Regions from separate parts of the Homo sapiens genome. Here region 1 is linked to region 2. Evidence: promoter capture Hi-C in 16 types of primary human blood cells and fetal thymus (Javierre and others, 2016). All regions are on one chromosome and are shown on one strand. Each heading gives the region's core, a stretch centred on a gene start or on the middle of the fragment in contact. The rest is flanking DNA. Distances are from core to core; before and after follow the strand shown.

What was found. The method cuts DNA at HindIII sites, captures the fragments that hold promoters and counts their contacts. A CHiCAGO score of 5 or more calls a contact.
Region 1: the fragment with the promoter of DDX41 here is called in contact with a fragment that was not itself captured in region 2 in 1 of 17 cell types (fetal thymus); the score reaches 5.2 in fetal thymus.

The regions. Positions count from the first base shown.
Region 1 is chr5:177,514,070-177,521,386 of GRCh38, reverse strand. It overlaps DDX41 (DEAD-box helicase 41), which reads left to right and starts at 4,426. Exons shown (of 17, transcript NM_016222.4): 1 at 4,426-4,468; 2 at 4,552-4,662; 3 at 4,940-5,099; 4 at 5,194-5,268; 5 at 5,398-5,458; 6 at 5,566-5,702; 7 at 6,129-6,201; 8 at 6,318-6,471; 9 at 6,550-6,686. The coding sequence starts at 4,442. FAM193B (family with sequence similarity 193 member B) reads left to right here. Exons shown (of 9, transcript NM_001190946.3): 9 at 1,206-1,598. RefSeq lists enhancers at 4,062-4,331, 4,360-5,184. The HindIII fragment of the contact is 2,611 bases long and covers 3,286-5,896 here.
Region 2 is chr5:177,123,818-177,131,308 of GRCh38, reverse strand. No RefSeq gene overlaps it. Among named protein-coding and RNA genes, the nearest start is that of NSD1, 6.2 kb to the left of the region's middle. RefSeq lists enhancers at 1-205, 1,795-1,844. The HindIII fragment of the contact is 669 bases long and covers 1,868-2,536 here.

The sequences.
Region 1 (7,317 bases), core at 3,177-5,676, 390 kb before region 2:
GGTGCCAGATGGCATTGGCATCCCCTCCCAGCCACCCACACAGGTCCTTTTGTCTGAAACAATGATGTACCAGATGATGATCTGGACTGGGAACAGACAACTGGAGAAGGCACTGGGCCTGGAACCCTATTGATGAAGAGAAGGGCAGCTAGCAGGCAGACCTTGGGCTGGGGGCTGAGTGGCTCTGCAGTTTCATATCTCAACCCTCAGCTGTGTCCCTGGGGTCAGGCCTTTTCCGGCTGGCAACCACACAGCTGTCCTGGAGACTGGAAGGCTGGGGCAGGCAGACTGAGCTCACAAACAACTCACTTCCCCCATGATGGCCCCACCTGTCTTTCTCCTCTTTCCAGTGCCAGGCCAGCTCCTCTCTGGGCCTAAGCAGCAAACTTCCTGGACCCTCAGCTCCCCAGGGGCAGCTCAGAGAGCCTGCAGCCAGGACAGCCTTCAGAGCTGGGGCTCCCTGTGACCCTTGTGCTGCCCCAGAGTCCAGACTGTCTTCTTTACACTCACTTTAGTCCTCCTCTCCTCTGAAGGGGTTGGGCTCAGTCAGCCCCCTTTGCCAAACTGAGATGCCCACAAGCCCCAGAAGTATCTTCCAGATCCAAGGTGGCCTCCTGCCTCTTCTCCACCTCCATGGGAACCAGGAGTAGCAGGAACCCCAGGCACTTCATCTGTTATCCCTACTGAGAGAAAAGAGATCGCATTTCCTCCCACAAGCCCAGTTCTGTCATTCAAGAAATCAAATGCAACTGTCTCCTTCCACTGCCTCCTCTTGACCCTTTTTCACCTGGTCTGGCCTCTTTTCCAAGATAGAAGATGCCCCTCTCCCCACCCCCTAGTAAGCGCTCTCCTTTGAGCCTCTTCACCCTCCCCCGGGCTGTGCACCTACAGTCAGAGGCAGGAGCACAGCTGCACAGCTGGCCTCCCAGCCCCTGCTGATGGACAGCAAGTGCCAAAGGCTGGATCTACTCAAGGATTGTCCCCCACCTTGTCAGGATCCTGGGACTGGGGCTCTGTCTCCCAACCCGTTAACCTGCATCCTCTGCTACAGGTGATCCAGGGAATCTTCAACATTTTCAGCCCAGGGAACAAAAATAGCAGCCAGCTGTTTCTGCTACCAGAGACCCATGGGTACCCAAGTGGCATGGGGAGGCTGGAGCATGGCTCATTGCTTACTGTGATTCTGCTCTTTTTTTCTTTCTCAGGCCCTGCCCAGGCTGAGCTGCTTCAGGGCGTCCTGAGGCCCTGACTGCCAGCTGAAGGCGTATAATTTTTCCCTCCGTGTGCCCCACCTACCCGTCCAAGACCCTCTGTGCTCCCCACCATCCTGGACCAACCAAAAGCTGAACGGATGCCACACTGTGCTGGGGCCCCTTGACCTCAGCAGAGCCGCTTCCTGGTGCTACGCAGCCTCCACACTCAGAGCCCGTGGACTGGGCTGGCCTAAGGGCCAGGGCTGATGGTACTGCTGGCCCAACACTGCTCTCTTTGTGTTTGGTTTTTTTGTTTTTGTTTTTATTTTGTTTTTTTCCAATTCTTTACTTTTGATACTGTGAAGATCTTTCGTGCCGAAAGATAAAGCAACATTTGGACACAGAGTTGGCATGTTGGTGATTTGTGGGTCTGGGCGGGGAGGGAGTTGAGGGTGTGCTCAGAAGCATGGGCTCTCCCTTAGTCACTAACCCTAGCATGCACCATGCATCAGCAGTTTGGTGCTATTGTCCCATTTTACAGGTGAGGAAACTAAAGCCGATAGGAAAGTGACTCAGCTCAACTTAGTCTGGCTGATTAGCATTGAGCGCAGACTGGTATGATTATGGCATCTGTGCCCTTTTCTCCTTTTGGGAGGTCTCTGGTATGTGAGCCTGGGGCAGCCCCTTCCCCACTCTTTCCTGTTTCCCTCTTTGCAAGATGGGTGAGTTGGAGGGGTTGAAGATGGTCTCTGTGCATCTGGATGTGAGAAGAGGTCTAGGAAAGACCCTGAGGCCTTCATGGATCTGTAGCCTGGGCCATCGAGGCCCCTCACACTGACTTCACAGTCAGGGGAAGTTGGGGGTAAATTGAGTTTTTTATAAATTAGATCTGATTTTCCAGTGGGGGTGGGACATGTAGCTGAGGGCTTGAGAGTTAAGAGGATAATGAACTCTTCTGTAAAGTCAAGCAAACTACCTCATCCCCCGAAATGGATCTGGTTTGTAAATTTGGATTTTAATACAATGAGTTTTCCCAAAATGCCCCTGACACACTTGTGTCCAAACTCCATGCCCCAAATTTAGTTTTCGCTCCTAAAACCAACTCGAGGTTATGTGGGGAGCTAACAGGGTCACTAAGAGCCATGTATTTGGGTGTTGTGAGCAGGACCAGAAACCATGTCCTCCATCCCTCCCAGGTTGAGACCCACCATGGGACTGGCAGTAAGCACCAGCTTATTTTTTTTATAGAGATGGGGTCTTGCTATGTTGTCCAAGCTGGTCTTGAACTCCTGGCTTCAAGCGATCCTCCTGCCTTGGCCTCCCAGAGAGCTGGGATTACAGGAATGAGCCACTGTGCCCAGCCTAAGCTTTCTTTACTAAAGAAGACTTCATGAATTCCTGTGTATCCTTCACATCCCAGCTAAGAGGCCATTGTACTGTGAAAACTATGACACTTCGAAAAGCGGTACCTTGTCTTAGGATCTTTCTCTTTAAGACCAGTTATCTGTCTATATTTCTAGTCTCAATCTACATAAGCTCCTCGCACACCAGGTATGTGTCTTGATTATCATCTGCTTGAGCGCAGTGCCAGCGCCCAGCACACACTCTTGAAGGCAAGAAAGCACAGAGCTGACCAAGTCATTCCTTAGAAGTCTCTAATAAAGTTGAAACCACTTACTCTGACAGTCACAGCAGGCATGCTCTGGTCGCAATCTCCTTTTCTGGCCTTAGGTCTGGCTTCCCCATCCCACCCTTGCCGCAATGCTGTTGCCTAGTGAATCTGTGTACTTGCACATCGCCAGACCTGTATTCCTGCAGCGCCCTGGCCCAGGACGCCTCTCCTCTCCCGGCCTGAGATTGCCATGTATTTGGGTGTTGTGAGCAGGACCAGAAACCATGTCCTCCTCCATCCCTCCCAGGTTGAGACCCACCATGGGACTGGCAGTAAGCACCAGCTTATTTTTTTTATAGAGATGGGGTCTTGCTATGTTGTCCAAGCTGGTCTTGAACTCCTGGCTTCAAGCGATCCTCCTGCCTTGGCCTCCCAGAGAGCTGGGATTACAGGAATGAGCCACTGTGCCCAGCCTAAGCTTTCTTTACTAAAGAAGACTTCATGAATTCCTGTGTATCCTTCACATCCCAGCTAAGAGGCCATTGTACTGTGAAAACTATGACACTTCGAAAAGCGGTACCTTGTCTTAGGATCTTTCTCTTTAAGACCAGTTATCTGTCTATATTTCTAGTCTCAATCTACATAAGCTCCTCGCACACCAGGTATGTGTCTTGATTATCATCTGCTTGAGCGCAGTGCCAGCGCCCAGCACACACTCTTGAAGGCAAGAAAGCACAGAGCTGACCAAGTCATTCCTTAGAAGTCTCTAATAAAGTTGAAACCACTTACTCTGACAGTCACAGCAGGCATGCTCTGGTCGCAATCTCCTTTTCTGGCCTTAGGTCTGGCTTCCCCATCCCACCCTTGCCGCAATGCTGTTGCCTGGTGAATCTGTGTACTTGCACATCGCCAGACCTGTATTCCTGCAGCGCCCTGGCCCAGGACGCCTCTCCTCTCCCGGCCTGAGATTGCCACGCTTCCCTGGAAGCGCCCCCCAGGCAGCTCTGTTAGAGCATTTACAGTAATAACCGTTTACATTTATACAGGGCCTCCCACTTCAAAACCACTGCCATCCGTATCTGATGCGTGCCCCACCAGTGAACGTATGTGTCACACAGGCGCAGTCAGGGAGGCAGGGTGTGTCGAGCGGTTTATCCCGCAACCCCGGCGTCCCCGGCAGGGATGAAAGCGCAGGGCCCACGCGAACTCGGCCCGCAGCTCCCGGCCCTAGAGGACGCACTGTCCGCCGGCAGGGGCGTGCCCAAGACGCCATGCTCTGGGAGAGGTTGGGCACCTGGCAGGCCGCCCCGACTCCGGATCAGCTGTCTCCGCTGCGTACGTCTTCCTCTTCCAATGGGCTTGGATTGAGCCTTCTAGCGCATATTCCAAGTCCTCCAATGTCCCACAATGCCTTGCAGCCGGTTTCGCCCTCGGTCCTGGCAACTGTCGCGTAACCACCCATGAAAGCGTCCATGCCTCGCCGTGCGATAGTATCTCCGGAACAAATTTGTCCCTCTGCGCGATCCGGAACTCCGAGGTCGTTCCTACGCGCCGTCGTTCGCCTCTTCACATCGGATTGGGTCTCACGCAAGGATGAGGCGGGGTTTCGCCGTGGCGCGCATGCGTGCAGCAAAGAATGGAGGAGTCGGAACCCGAACGGAAGGTAGGAGAGAGGCGAGACCCCGCGCGTGTGGGAGCGGGCGTGAAGAGGGGAGCAGGCCGTGCCTGACTGGCGTGTGCTTGCAGCGGGCTCGCACCGACGAGGTGCCTGCCGGAGGAAGCCGCTCCGAGGCGGAAGATGAGGACGACGAGGACTACGTGCCCTATGTGCCGTTACGGCAGCGCCGGCAGCTACTGGTGAGGGGCACGCGTCCGGGGAGGGATGGGGCCGTGACCGCGGGGTCGCAGGGGGCGGGCGTGGCCTCGGCCTCCGTGGGGAGGAGGGCAGTCTGAGGAGTGAGCTTCAGTACACCAGGGCGCGGCCCCCAGACAAACGAGGGACCGACGGCTTGATCTGAGGGGTAGGGCAGCTTTGCGCCTCGGGCACAGGATCCTCGCCCCAAAGCCAGGATCCTGACGCTGACCTTGTGGACTCCATGCCCATCCTATCTGTGGATCCCGGGTGGAACCTCAGCTCCAGAAGCTGCTGCAGCGAAGACGCAAGGGAGCTGCGGAGGAAGAGCAGCAGGACAGCGGTAGTGAACCCCGGGGAGATGAGGACGACATCCCGCTAGGCCCTCAGTCCAACGTCAGCCTCCTGGATCAGCACCAGCACCTTAAAGAGAAGGCTGAAGGTGGGCTGGGCAGCACTGCCTGGGCGAGAAAGAAGAAGCTGAGCCTGGTACACCGTTTTGGTATCTGTCTGACATCTTCCACTTCTTTTCTCAGCGCGCAAAGAGTCTGCCAAGGAGAAGCAGCTGAAGGAAGAAGAGAAGATCCTGGAGAGTGTTGCCGAGGGCCGAGGTATGGTTGTAGCCAGGATAGTGAGAAGGTGGACTGAGTCTTCTCCTCCCAGCCCCAGGCATGTTATATCTCAAGGGATCTGGCTTCTCAGAAGCAGGAGCCAGCCCTGAGCCATGTCTCTCTCTTCAGCATTGATGTCAGTGAAGGAGATGGCTAAGGGCATTACGTATGATGACCCCATCAAAACCAGGTATGTCTGTACAGTCTGCAGTTGCCCTTGCTTAGGATGGTACATGCAGGGATGCTCCCAGGCCAGCTATTCCCAGGGCTCTCTTGATCCCTGTTACCCATCCACAGCTGGACTCCACCCCGTTATGTTCTGAGCATGTCTGAAGAGCGACATGAGCGCGTGCGGAAGAAATACCACATCCTGGTGGAGGGAGACGGTATCCCACCACCCATCAAGAGCTTCAAGGAAATGAAGTTTCCTGCAGGTAGTCAGGGGCTGGAGAGAGATACCACACTTTTATAATCAAATGCCTGTGAGGTTATGTCCTGGCTCCCACTGAGCTCAGCCACATCTGCATTGGATCCAGTCACTGGGGCTGGAGGGATTTGAGGAGGAGTTTCTTTAGGTTCCTTGTTGCCTCAGCTGTACGTGTTCATTGTTCTCTGCTGTTACAAAGCTTCAGGAGGAAAGTGCCATTGGGCATAGACACTGGGTACAAATCCTGGCTGCACCTAGCCTGTGGGCCTTGGACAAGTCTCTTTTTTTCTTTTTTTTTTTCCACTCTCTCTCTCTCTCTCTGAGCCTCAGTTTCATCATCTGCAACTTGTAGGGGTAGTGCCAGTTTTACAGGCTTTGGGGCTCTGAGAAAGTACCTGTGAGTCATGAAGACGATGTCGGTTGGTTTTCATAGCCATCCTGAGAGGCCTGAAGAAGAAAGGCATTCACCACCCAACACCCATTCAGATCCAGGGCATCCCCACCATGTGAGTGTGGACTGTGGACCTGGGGTCCTTGAGGAGGGCTGGAACAGGGAGGAGCAATGGCTAGGTGTCCTTCATCTTCTGTTGAAATTGGCCCTCGGGTCATCCTCTCCCAACAGTCTATCTGGCCGTGACATGATAGGCATCGCTTTCACGGGTTCAGGCAAGACACTGGTGTTCACGTTGCCCGTCATCATGTTCTGCCTGGAACAAGAGAAGAGGTTACCCTTCTCAAAGCGCGAGGGGCCCTATGGACTCATCATCTGCCCCTCGGTAAGATAGGCTGGCCTGGAGGGCAGGCCAGAGATTGGGGCTGCCATCTGGTGCCAGCCTTTGTCCCTCTGCCTGCAGCGGGAGCTGGCCCGGCAGACCCATGGCATCCTGGAGTACTACTGCCGCCTGCTGCAGGAGGACAGCTCACCACTCCTGCGCTGCGCCCTCTGCATTGGGGGCATGTCCGTGAAAGAGCAGATGGAGACCATCCGACAGTGAGTGCTGGCGCTCCCTGCCCCCCACCTCTGCCACCTGCGAGTCTGTGGAAAAGCTAAAGGACCCTTTACCTTAGCCACTCCACAGATCTTCACAGAGGGCTGCTGTGAGTGCGACCCTCAAGGAGCTCCCAGTCTAATGGGGAGGTTAGTTGGGGGAGGACAGAGGGATGTGGCCAGGTACTGTGGGAGCACGGCAGATGGAATGGCCCACCTTGCTGGGGACATCTGGGAGGTGGGAGCTCAGAGAAGGCTTTTCCGGGAAGGTGACATTTGAATTGGGAAGAGGGGCAGTCCAGGCTGAAAGCACAGAGGCGGACGGCCCAGGAAGGTCAGGGTCATTCAGTGGTCAGTCAAGGAGGTTGAGGCACTGGGGTAGGGCTGGATCCCAGCGGCACCTGTGTCCTTTCAGTGCTGTGCAGTCCTCTGCAGACCACCAGAGGCCCTGGACCAGGCCCTCTGTTCACAGATGGGCCAGACCCCATCCCGGAGGCCTTCCTCCACGGACTTCTGAGTATTAGGGAGATGGTGAGCACAGAAAAGGTGAAGCCAGTGGGCCAGGAAAGCGAGCCCAGAGTAAAGCCTCTGGAGCTTGATGACAGCGCTTCTGGGTGAGAGGCTGACCCAGGAG
Region 2 (7,491 bases), core at 953-3,452:
GGGACCAACCAGAGAAAAGTCGAGTCTATACCTACAAGGGCCAGCTCTTTGTTCTGCTAGGGTCACTCACCCTGCTAATCCCATCTGGGCAATTCGACTCAACAGGCAAGCTCTGACTGGTTCCTTCTTCACACCTAATAATTTGAGCCAATCATTTTGACTGACAGTTACTCCTCTGCCAATTGCCCCAATTCATCAATGCTCCTCCCAGTCCTTTACTTTGCCACTAACCATCCTGAGGGCCTGAGACCTGCCTTGAACTAGTCACTTAACAGTCCTGAGCCTCAGTTTCCCCATCTGCAACTTCCAATGCACAGCACTGGCTGCGAAGATTCTGTAAGGTAAAGGTCTAAGTGTTAGCAGCCTACACTCAGACTTAGTTATAGGCTGAGCACTTGATGAGTGCTGAAATGTAATTCATCGCTTCATTCAGCAACCATTTCCTGCATTCCAGGCAGTGTGCTGAGTGCTGGGGAAACAAAAGATGAGATCCTGGCCTCGGGAAAAGACAGTTAAATAAAGGTGCTATGGTGTGAAAATAGGGTTGAGACAACAGTTTCTTCCAAAGCTCACCTCTGAACAACACTGCCCTGCAGAACCCCTCTCTCCCACCTCCCAGCTCCTCTGGAAGACTGAGGGCCAAAAGGAGATTGGCAGCTGGGGATGAACTGCTTGCTGACAGGTCTGGGGGAGAAGACCAGGACCCCAGGGAAAACCTCTCAGACTTCTCTGGGATAACCCCTGAGGGCCTTACCTGCCTCTTAGAGTAAAACTTGGCCACAGAGGTCTCAATCACAGCCGACCCATCTCCAGCCTCCCCATCTGGCAGGCCCTGGCCAAGCATCTCATGTGTGCCAGCACTAGGTTGAGAAGATCCACAGCGCCATAGATTCTCACAAGGACACTGACTCCTTGAGTGGGGGCAGAAGGGAGAGGACTGTGTCCCTGTAGGGTGGGGGCCTGGGATGTACACTCAGCTCTCCTCTGGCTGGTTGTCTCAATCCAGGGACCTTTTCTGGGCCTGTGACTCCCATCCTTAGGACTGAGATAAGAATCAGTAAACACTTGCTGGGTCTGTACTAGTGTACTGGACACTGTCCTGGGCACTTCACATACAGTCGTTCCTATGACCCTTCACCAGCCCTACGAAGAATTGAGGTCCAAGAGACTAAGCCCTCATGCAAGGTGTCAGCACCTTAACTCTCACCTGGTATGATGGGCCTCACGTGCTTGCTCTCAGCCTGTCCACCCTACACATACTGCCTGTGAAAAGCCCAGCATGGTGCTTACACACAGGTGCCCAGAAATTTGAATGACAGGCAGAGGGACTCTACCTTGGGCTGAGTTTCCTCATCTGTAAATCTTGGTTACTGATAATTCCTACCCTGGTGAGATATAATAGATACCTGTTGGGACATTTGGCCAATGTACAGTGATCTCTTTTTTCTTAGAACCACCCCTTTTCATTCATTAATTCCATAAATATTTTGGGGCTCCCCGTCACAGCCTTGTGGAAAAAGCAGACAGGTAATAACAAGGCAGAGAACTGAGTACTGAGAGAGAAGCCAAGGGTGCTGGAGAAGCTGAGAATGCCCTTGAAACTAACTCAGGGGTATCCTTGAGGAAGCAACATCCAGAGAGAGTCCTGGAGGATATTCAGGAATAGCCAGGCAAGAAGGGGAAGAGGCAGAGATTCCAGCAGAGTCCAGAGAAACACCAGGCTTCAGAGGAACTGACCACAACAAGCATGTCTAGTGTATGTGCCGGGGCAGAGGTAATGAGTGCAGAAAGAGGCTCAACCAAGGATGGGGCAGACACAGAGCCTCACCCTTCAGGGCTTGGTTGGTTAAGTTAAAGAGTTGAAGCTTTATCTGGAAGGCAGTAAGCAGCCATGGAAGGTGAGGGAGGAGGATAATGACGTGATGGCATCTGAGCAGTAGAAAGCTCACTCTTCTGTGTCCAGAAGACACTGGTTCCTCCCCTAGAAACACAACTCCAGCAAGGGCTCTGCCTGTTGTTACAATAACAGTTGTAGCTTATCCTCCTCTGTTCCAGCTACCCTGCAGGATACTCATTTACTCCTCTGAGATGGGTATTATTGTTATCCCCATCTTCTAGAAAGGAAGCATGACTTGCCCAGAGACAAACTCCCATCCTAGTTCCAGCTCCTTGTTCCCACTGAACAGGAACAGCATCTGCCTTCTGACTAAACAGTTAGGTCTTGGGAGAGGCATGGAGGCCTTTGGTAATTAATCCTGAACATAGCTGGTGAACACCAGGACCATGCCTTCTGATGGGTCTAGGAGCTGTTTCCTTCCTCTCCCCACCCACGGATTTCCCCAAAATTGAATCAGTTTTCAACTTAAGATCAAGGAAGGCCTGACCACATCTGAGACCAGGCAGCCCTCCAGCAGTCTCCTTCCTGCCCCAAATACCAGGTCCTGTCGCTAACCTGAGCCTGTACGCCCAGCCCCAGCCCGAAGGACTCAAGCATCCACCTTTAAGTTTTCTTCTTCTTAAACCTCCTTCTGAAGCTTGGTATGGTGGCCACTAATCCCTGCCCTCCTGCTCTCACTTCCCCCAACTGCCCAGTGCCAGGACAAGCCACATCCTGTCCAGCCTATGCTCATGCCAGTCACTCTGCCTTTTCCCCTGGGCAGACTCCATTCATCCTGTTTAGAAGACTCCTCCTCCTGGTAGTCTTCCCACCCCTACAGGCAGCCATTTTCCCTGAGTCCTGGTAGTAACTAATGGCTTCTAAATCTGGTCTCATCCAGTTGGACAGTCACTTCCAACAAGACTAAGGACATATACTCTCTGACCTCCAGTGAACAAGCCCAGACCGTGAAGCTCAGAGTGAGTGCTCCAGAAACATTTCATGATGCCTGATCTATCCCCTCCTCTCCTCTCCAAGCCTGTGTCTCCATCAGACAGAATTGTGGTTTCAATAACGGACCAAATGAGTTGTACAAAACTCAGATCCTCCCAAAAAGGATTCAAGATGTTTGAGGAACAAACAGCCTTTGGTGCCAGACAATGCTTTACAAAGCATAAGAGGCCAGGTACAGTGGTGCACGCCTTTAGTCCCAGCACTTTGGAAGGCTGAGGCAGACGGATCGCTTGAGCCCAGGAGTTCAAGACCAGCCTGGGCAATATGGCTAAACCTTGTCTCTACAAAAAATACAAAAAGTAGGCCAGGCGCTGTGGCTCACATCTGTAATCCCAGCACTTTGGGAGGCCAAGGCAGGTGGGTCACATGAGGTCAGGAGTTTGAGACCAGCCTGACCAATGTGGTGAAACCCCGTCTCTACTAAAAATACAAAATTAGCCGGATGTGGTGGCACACACCTGTAATCCCAGCTATTCGGGGGGCTGAGGCAGGAGAATCGCTTGAACCCAAGAGGCTGAGGTTGCAGTGAGCTGAGATCGCGCCATTTCACTCCACCCTGGTCCACAAGGCGAAACTCCATTTAAAAAAACAAACAAACAAACAAACAAATTATCCTGGCATGGTGGTGTATGATTCGCACCCATAGTCCCAGCTACTTGGCAGGCTGAGGTGGGAGGATCGCTTGAGCCCAGGATGTGGAGGCTGCAGTGAGCCATGTTCATGCCATTGCACTTCAGCCTGGGTGACAGAGTGAGACTCTGGCTCCAATAAATAAATAAATAAAAGTATAAGAGACCTTATGACCAGGCTCAGTGGCTCATGCCTGTAATCCCAGCACTTTGGGAGGCCGAGGAGGGCGGATCACAAGGTCAGGGGTTCGAGAACAGCCTGGCCAACATGGTGAAACCCCGTCTCTACTAAAGATACAAAGGATTAGCTGGGCGTGGTGGCACGTGCCTGTAATCCCAGCTACAAGGGAGGCTGAGGCAGGAGAATCGCTTGAACCTGGCAGGTGGAAGTTGCAGTAAGCTGAGATCCCGCCATTGCACTCCAGCCTGGGCTACAGGGCGAGACTCCGTCTCAAAAACAAAAAGAGCTTACGTGACCTGGAGTCAGATGGATACAAATTCAAACTGCAGCAGGGCCATTTACCAGGAATGTCATTTTCGCTCTTTGAGCCTCACCAAATGGGATAGCTATGAAGATAAAATATTCAAAGTACGTATAACCTGGCCCTGGGCCCAGCACAAAGCAACTGCCCACTGGGCACCTCCTTCAGGATGCCCCCAGGTTCCTCAACCCAATTATCTGTCTTCTCTCTCCCACCCCAATCCTGCTCCTTCTCTAGGCATCTGATTTTGTTGGATGCACCCCCAGCTTCATATCAAGCCAAGCACTTCTGAACCTACTGATTCAAAACGGAGGAAGAGAAAGTGAGAGAATGCTGGGTTCTGGCAGTGCTTGGATCAGGGAGTGGAAGGAGGAGTATGGGGAAAGGGGGAGGTCTCCAGCCAGTGGCCAGAAAGGTGGCTGCACCTCCTCCTGGGTGAGGATTAGGGTTTATAGCTCACCCACCCACACCTACCCCTTGTTGCCCCTCAAAGAGAAGATATCCTATTTTACAGATGAAAACAAAGGCTGAAAAGCAGCTCATGAAATCACTGCTCTTGCTAGTGGAGGAATGACAAAGAGTTTGTACCCAGTAGTTGCTCAATAAATACTAAAAGGGCTGGGCGTGGTGGCTGAAGCCTATAATCCCAGCACTTTGGGATGCCGAGGTGGGTGGATCACTGGAGGGCAGGAGTTGAAGACCAGACTGGGCAACGAAACCTCATCTCTACAAAAAATTAGCTGGGCGTTGGCCGGACACGGTGGCTCACGCCTGTAATCCCAGCACTTTGGGAGGCCAAAGCGGGCAGATCACAAGGTCAGGAGATCAAGACCATCCCGGCTAACACGGTGAAACCCTGTCTCTACTAAAAATACAAAAATTAGCTGGGCGTGGTGGCGGGCACCTGTAGTCCCAGCTACTCGGGAGGCTGAGACAGAAGAATCGCTTGAACCCGGGAGGCGGAGGTTGCAGTGAGCTGAGATCGCGCCACTGCACTCCAGCCTGGGTGACATAGTAAGGCTCTGTCTCAAAAAAAAAAAAAAAAACCCAGAGGCCAGGTCTGGTGGCTCACGCCTGTAATCCCAGCACTTTGGGAGGCCGAGGTGGGCAGATCACTTGAGGTCAGGAGTTTGAAACCAGCCTGGCCAATATGGCGAAATCCCCTCTCTACTAAAACTACAAAAATTAGCTGAGCGTGGTGGTGCACGCCTGTAATCCCAGCTACTTGGCAGGCTTAGGTAGGAGAATCTCTTGAAGCCGGGAGGCAGAGGTTGCAGTGACCCAAGACCACATCAGTGCACTCCAGCCTGGGTGACAGAGCGAGATTCTGTCTCAAAAAAAAAAAAAAAAAACCCTCCAGAGCTGTAGATTCAGCTAGCTTGATTTATAGAAAATGTGTCTGAAATGGCAAAGGCAGAACCCATCATCAAATCCCTCAGCCAGGCTGGGTGCAGTGGCTCACACCTGTAATCCCAGCACTTTAGGAGGCCTAGGTGGGTGGATCACGAAAGGTCAGGAGTTTGAGACCAGCCTGACCAACATGGTGAAACCCCATCTCCACTAAAAATACAAAAATTAGCCAGCCATAGTGGTGCACACCTGTAATCCCAGCTACTTGGGACGCTAAGGCATGAAAATTGCTTGAACCCGGGAGTCTGAGGTTGCAGTGAGCCAGGATCACACCACTGCACTCCAGCCTGGGCAACAGAGCGAGACTTTGCGTCAAAAAAAAAAAAAAAAAAAAAAAGGCCTTCAGCCAACTCAGATTGACTTTCAGTCAGAAAAGATCTGACTTTGTTTCTCATGAAAACCAGTGTTAGGCTGGATGTGGTGGCTCACGTCTGTAATCCCAGCACTTTGAGAGGCTGAGGTGGGTGGATTACCTGAGGTCAGGAGTTCAAGACCAGCCTGGCCAACATGGTGAAACCCTATCTCTACTAAAAATACAAAAAATTAGCCCAGCATGGTGGCAGGCACCTGTAATCCCAGCTACTTGGAAGGGTAAGGCAGAAGAATTGCTTGAACCCAGGAGGCAGAGGTTGCAGTGAGCTGAGATCACATATTGCACTCCAGCCTGGGTAACAGGAGCGAAACTCCGTCTCGGAAAAAAAAAAAAAGAAAGAAGTAAACCAGTGTTCCAGTGTTAGTATGCATCCCTGTGACAGCCATCCCCTGCTGGATTCTAATTCTAGAACAGACAGACAAGATCAGAGCGTAGCCCGAGTTTGTTGGGTAAGGCCTGGGAAACTCTGCAGGCTCCCCAGCACCCAGTCTCTGAGGCACCCCGCCCCCCACCCCCGCTGACTCCGAAGGAGATTCACTTGGGTGAGATATGGCTTTTCCCTCCTTAGTGAGAAACTGGGAGAAAGAAGACCGAAGAGATGTGATTTCTCAGGCCCACCGAGGACAAATGGAAGGTGCAGTCTGGGAACTTGTTCTTCTAACTCCAGCCATACTCAGAACAATCTGGAAAATCTTCATATCTCTCAGGCAAAAACTTTAAGCAAAAACCGAGATTGGAAAACAGGGCTTTGTAGAACAAAGAGAGCAGCTGTGAGTGGGGGATAGCGGGACAGGGCTTTTTCCAGAGATATAGTTGGCCTCTCTATCACAGGGCCTGGGTTTGCTGTTCCCTCTGCCACCCCATGACTCCTCCTGTCAATCAGCTGGAGTCCCTCCTCAAACAGGTATTCTTTGGCCCCTCCCCTGGCTCTAGGAGCTCCTATCAGGTCCCAAGTCACTCTAGCACATCTTCCTGTTGAATTGCCTTAGAGCTATTACCACTCTCTGAAATTACCTGATGTCTTTCCTATTTATTTCTTTATTTTCTTTTTGTTGAGATATAATTATCATACCATAAAATTCACAAAGAGTACAATCCAGTGGTTTTGGTTTTTGGTGTTTTTTTGAGACAGGGTCTCACTCTGTCACCCAAGCTGACGTGCAGTGGCGCGATCTTGGCTCACTGCAACTTCCGTCTCCCAGGCTCAGATGATCCTCCCACCTCAGCTTCCTGAGTAGCTGGGACTACAGGCACACGCCACCACTCCCGGCTAATTTTTGTATTTTGTACTTATTGGCCATTTATAATCTTCTTTGGAGAAATATCTATTTAGATCCTTTGCCCATTTTTTAAAAATTGGGTAATTTGTCTTTATTGTTCTGTTTTGTTTTGTTTCAGAGTCTCGCTCTGTCGCTCAGGCTGGAGTGCAGTATCATGATCTCGGCTCACTGCAACTTCTCCTGCCTCAGCCTCCTGAGCAGCTGGGATTACAGGTGCTCATCACGCCCGGCTAATTTTTGTATTTTTAGCAGAGGCGGGGTTTCACCATGTTGGCCAGGTTGGTCTCGAACTCCTGACCTCATCATGTGATCCATCTGCCTCAGCCTCCCACAGTGCTGGGACTACAGGTGTGAGCCACTGCACCCGGCCGTCTTTATTGTTCAGTTGTCAGAATTCTTCATGTATTCTGGATATGTCCTTTATCAG